2 separate regions of the Homo sapiens genome follow, and region 2 is linked to region 1. The links are contacts of gene promoters, found by promoter capture Hi-C in blood cells and fetal thymus (Javierre and others, 2016). All regions are on one chromosome and are shown on one strand. The core of a region is centred on a gene start or on the middle of the fragment in contact, and the rest is flanking DNA. Distances in the headings are between cores, read along the strand shown. Region 1 holds the start of LINC00449 (long intergenic non-protein coding RNA 449). Region 2 has its middle 4.4 kb from the start of RAP2A.

Region 1 (2,700 bases), core at 157-2,656:
GTCGCCCAGGCTGGAGTGCAGTGGCGCGATCTCGGCTTACCGCAAGCTCCGCCTCCCGGGTTCACGCCATTCTCCTGCCTCAGCCTCCCAAGTAGCTGGGACTACAGGAGCCCGCCACCACGCTCGGCTAATTTTTTTGTATTTTTAGTAGAGACGGGGTTTCACCGTGTTAGCCAGGATGGTCTCGATCTTCTGACCTCGTGATCCGCCCATCTCGGCCTCCCAAAGTGCTGGGATTACAGGCGTGAGCCACCGCGCCGGCCGAAGGTCAAGTTTCAGTGGTGCTAGGAAAAGAAGATAGTGAGCAAAAATGTTAATTTTTGTTTCCTCCTCTTAATATTTGGAGAAAACGTCTGCTTCCTTTTGTTATATTGGAAATCTCCATGACTTCCAAATACAGAATATTTTACAATTTTTCCCTATCCCAAAGTTCAGCGAATATGTTGATTTATTTGAGGGAGAGGACATGAAAGGGAAGCCACCTAGGCACAATTTTCTGCTCAGGCCCTACCAGATTAGTTTTTGTTATCAAAAAAAAAAAAAAAAGTGCCATTCCTTGGGCCAAGCTATGTGCTCAGCACTTTCCCTCCATTTTTGATTTAATCTTCACAACAACCTTAAGATGAACGTTCTTTTCTACTTCCCAGTTCTCTTGATTAACTTGGCTACCCCACTATATGGATCAATTTGCAGGGTCCTAGGTCCCTTTGAAAATCTGATGAAAGTTATAAACCTTACCTGGGAAAAAAGTACAAACACCCGCAAGAACTTGAAATAGGAGTTCACTGGCCCTCAACTTTCTGAGCTTACTATTTCACAAACCTGCCTATTCTTGAATTCTGAGCTGGAGGTCATGATTCTCTCTTATGTACTTTAAGATGATGCACTCTTCCGAAGTTTTTGATTGAACTCTAGTGGCTAACTGAATTGACTTTTTCAGATCACTAAAAAGCTTCTCCTTGAAAAATACTCAGAAGATGCAACACACACACACACACACGTGTGTGCACTTACACACGCGGACACCGTCTCACATCATCAGTGGGAAAAGTGATAGAATCTTGCTAAAGGCTGATCATACCATATTAATCCGATTCGCCAGAACTACTTTCTTCACTGAGCTCTCAGGTATGCTCGGGTCTTCCTTTAAAGAAAATAAATGTCAACGCTACACTCTATCCTACTCCCATTTTCCTCCTCACCCCATTTCCACTCTCCCTTAAAGAGATGTGTGCACACAATCACTGCCCAATGCAAGAATGCACCACTGCATCCAATGCTTGGAAATTGTCCGTGAAGATGCCTTTGAGTAGCTGTCTATTTGAGGATTTGTGGCTAATTCCTCCCCATTTGTTTCCTTAGCCTGCTCCCAACCAGGTGTCTCCAGAACTTTTTCTCTCCGCCACCAACTCCGCCTCCAGACAGACCGCAGGTGCTTTCTGTCATAGGGACTGGCGTGCCGCGGACAGTGTGACAAAGAAACTGTATGATGGATATGAGAACTTCGTAAGACCCAGCAGCAAACGGGGAGCGGCTGGCGAGCGCTCCACAGCCCCCAAGCGTGGGAGCTCTAGATCGGAATTTGTAATTTGGAATTGGAACGTGAGCGCCGGAACAGCTCTCCCAGCAACCACCTCTCCCAGCAACCACCTCAGCTGGCGCGCGGAAAACCCGGAAAGTGGATTTCGCCCCCGCTCCCTCCCGGAAACTCCTCCTGGTGCCTGCGACCGTTCTCACTGAGCATGTGCAGACGGCGGTGCGCATGCTCTGTTGCGGTCCGCTTCGGTTTCTGTTGCGGGACCCGGGGTGTCTCCTAGCGCAACCGGAACTAGCCTTCTGGGGGCCGGCTTCCTTTATCTCTGGCGGCCTTGTAGTCGTCTCCGAGACTCCCCACCCCTCCTTCCCTCTTGACCCCCTAGGTTTGATTGCCCTTTCCCCGAAACAACTATCATGAGCGCGAGGCTGCCGGTGTTGTCTCCACCTCGGTGGCCGCGGCTGTTGCTGCTGTCGCTGCTCCTGCTGGGGGCGGTTCCTGGCCCGCGCCGGAGCGGCGCTTTCTACCTGCCCGGCCTGGCGCCCGTCAACTTCTGCGACGAAGAAAAAAAGAGCGACGAGTGCAAGGTGGGTGAGGCCTGACGAGCCCTCTGATGCACTGTTGGAAGGGGAAGTCGTCCCTATCCGGGGGAGCTGATCCTCGGGTGGGAGCGAGGGAAGGGGGCGTAGCAGCGGGTGGGGTTGAGTTTCCCCAGAAGCTTTTGGGGTCTGCTGGGCTGTGGGTGGGGGGCTCTGAAACAGCCCTTGCAAGGGTAGTTTCTGGAGGACGCAGTGGGCCTCAGACTCGCCTCCCGTCTTGCGGGCCAAGTGGCACGAGCAGCTGTATTCAGTTTTCCTGGAACAGGGACCGTGTGGAGCGCCCTTGGAGTTGGGCTTCACGCCTCAGAGCTTTGGAGTTGGATGTATGCAGGTCCACGCGTGAGTGTTCGCTCACAGCCCTGTAACATGTACGCTGAGGAAGCGGGTGACCGACTCCCTACATGTGAGCAACACTCAGCCTAGTTAACAGTTTCCATTAGCTTTTAACTTCATTGCTTCCTGTTTAATTGCATTTTCCTGGAACCTTCTAGTTGGTTAGGAGAGCTTGTTCTTTCTAGGACTTTGATATCTCGCTTCACAATTAGAAGTTGGTTCCTTATTTGTGGA
Region 2 (2,700 bases), core at 56-2,555, 2.1 Mb before region 1:
AAAGGCATTCTAGTGAAAACATTTTAAATTACACTATTTACCAAAAAGCCTACCTTTATGTATTACTGCTCTATTGAAATTTTTCTTTTCAAACAAATTCCATTCATTTCTACATAATGCATGTCAATAACAGCTATCATGGAAAAATAACAAGCAAAAACTGTTTTTCTACCTGTCTTCATTTTTTGCCACTCCTCATGTTTCCTTCTATTTCTATTTGTGAAAGTTTGAATCCCTCCTTCTTGATGCCCTTAAATCCATAATTACTTCTTATGACAACTCTTTTGACGCCCACATTATAAATTATTCATTATTTTGAATGACGCCTTAATTTCAAATGCACTCTTGTACTCCTACTTTGTCTTCTGTATTTTTCTCCTATATTATTTTTATACCTTTAAATAATCTTGCTTTGAGACTTCTGGCATCTTTCTGTCTTTTTCTCTGAGAGATGCCCCTAGAATGCTGTTGCTACAGGGAATTTAAAAAATCAAGTGATTCTGGTATTTCCCTCATTCACTCTTACTTCATTCCTGCTTTCTTCCTTTGCTCTTCTGGTTCCTTACATCTAGAGTGCTCTCTTCTGCCCCATCTAGCCTGTCCTTTCGCCACTTCCTTCAAAACCTGATACAATATTAATTTGCTTCAGACAACTCTCCTGGACTAACCTACTCCAATTTACTGTTTCTCTCGACCTCTGGGAATGTCAGTAAAAACTATACATTTCATTCTCATTTACTTGGAAAGTGTTTGTTTTTGTAATTTCATTCAGTTATTTAGTTATATATTTTGTAATATTTTATTATTTATATAATTACTATATACCCTTTCTAATTCCTGATTTTTCCTTATTAGTTTTAAGCATAACCATTATTTTATAATATAAACATGTAATTGGTTGCTTAATATCTGTCTCTCCTGCTAGAATACAAGCTCTTTTGGCTAATTGCTTATTGTTTTATCCCCAGAGCCTAAAAAATATACACAGTAATTACTCAATTAATATTATAGTATCTTTGAACTATCGTTCAGATATTAGTGAAATGAAAGTGCTCACAAATGCTTGCTGATTTTTTAAAGCCCGATTTTGGCTGGAATCCCTCATACTTTTTGTTAACAGGTGGGATGTATTTTGCTGTAAGATGCAGAAAACCTTACCAACACACACTTAAATTGAAAGACACCAGCTGTTTACTTAGCCATAAGTCCAAATGTGGGCAGTTCTAATGTTGGTTTGACTGTCCAATGTTGTCATGCAGGACCTAGGTTCTTCCCATCCTCCTCCCTGGCCATCCGAAGTTGCTGGCTTTCTACAGTATTGCACCATAATGTCATAATGCATCATAGCCCCCAAATGGAGGCCACATTCTCATATTTCAATGTGTAAAGCAGGAAGCAAAGAGAGCGACATCAGAAAACGGGGATATTTCCTCACTCTTGTCAATATCCTAGAAATCCCTCCAGCCCTAGCAGCCTTCTCCCCATTCCAATGACAAGAACTGAGTCACGTGCCTACTTTTGGACTAACCGTGGGCAGAGGGAAAGCAATGCTATTAAAGTCCAATCCTGATTCATCCCAGCTTCTTTGGCAAAAATAAAGGGAAACTGCTGGGTACGCAAGCAACACTGTGCCTGCTCTTCTGCTTTGTTAAATGAACCACACTGAAGCTCTGTTTTCCGCAGAATCCTCTAGCTCTTAAGATTCTTCAGGCTTTTTCTTTTTTCTGCCTACATTTTAATCATTACGTCTTTTCTTTCAGATTTTTTTTCTGATTAAAATGGCCTTTTGAAACATCTACTCTCTCCACCCATACGTTTCTTTTATTGAGTTGTTTCCATACTCTTAATTTCTGCATTCTAATTCCTTTTCTTTTCAAAAGCACTGAGACATATCACATTTTTTAAAGGAAGAACAAAGTTTATTTTGCCCCTTCCTTTCCACTCCACATATATACTGCAGATTCTCAACTGTATTAGGAGCCTCACAGGTCAAGAAACCATCGTCTGCTCTCCTTATACTTGCCAGCAGCGTTTCACAGGTGCTAAATGTACTTGACATGCCCTTCCCCTTTATGTTTAATCAGAGGCATGCAGGCTTTAATAAGAAGCATTAGGAATCAGGGTTTTACAGTCGAAAAGTACCCCTCGCATTACAAACATCCTCTACTAATTTGTTTCTATTAAATTATCTGCATATTTGCTTCTTGCTGGTGTCAGGAAGTCCCAGAATACAGTACCTTTCCCACTTCATACCACCTTTTCCAACACCTTTTACAGAAAGAAAGGATGGACTTGGGTTTCCACGGTAACACAAGTGCGATAATTGAAGGTATCTGGCTATAGGTGAGATAACTCCCTTTCAGATTTAGTGGAGAGAGGAGAAATGAAGATTTTCTTTCTTTTTATTCTCCTGGCAATGCACTTTGGAAACTAAAGGGATCCTGCAGTGTCAGTTACTGCGTTAAGTTTTCACTATCTTACAGATTTACAGCTCTTGGGAATAATTCAAATTTCTTTTATATCATTTTTATTTTTTATTTCCCACAAACAAATGAAGATATAAGTTATTTCTATAATCATCTCAAAATAGAGTTTATGCTGGCATCGGAATGAACATGACTAAGGGGTTAGAAAATAGACATCCATCTCCCACCCAAGTCCTCTAAATTCTCTACACGTCCTGACATCCTTTTTATAGCA

What was found. The method cuts DNA at HindIII sites, captures the fragments that hold promoters and counts their contacts. A CHiCAGO score of 5 or more calls a contact.
Region 2: a fragment that was not itself captured here is called in contact with the fragment with the promoter of LINC00449 in region 1 in 2 of 17 cell types (fetal thymus and naive B cells); the score reaches 11.9 in fetal thymus.

What each region holds. Positions count from the first base shown.
Region 1 is chr13:99,499,657-99,502,356 of GRCh38, forward strand. LINC00449 (long intergenic non-protein coding RNA 449) reads right to left here and starts at 1,407. Exons shown (of 2, transcript NR_133664.1): 1 at 739-1,407; 2 at 67-284. TM9SF2 (transmembrane 9 superfamily member 2) reads left to right here and starts at 1,816. Exons shown (of 17, transcript NM_004800.3): 1 at 1,816-2,121. The coding sequence starts at 1,951. RefSeq lists enhancers at 1,522-1,701, 1,608-2,196. The HindIII fragment of the contact is 1,300 bases long and covers 951-2,250 here.
Region 2 is chr13:97,428,421-97,431,120 of GRCh38, forward strand. No RefSeq gene overlaps it. Among named protein-coding and RNA genes, the nearest start is that of RAP2A, 4.4 kb to the right of the region's middle. The HindIII fragment of the contact is 3,897 bases long and covers 1-2,700 here.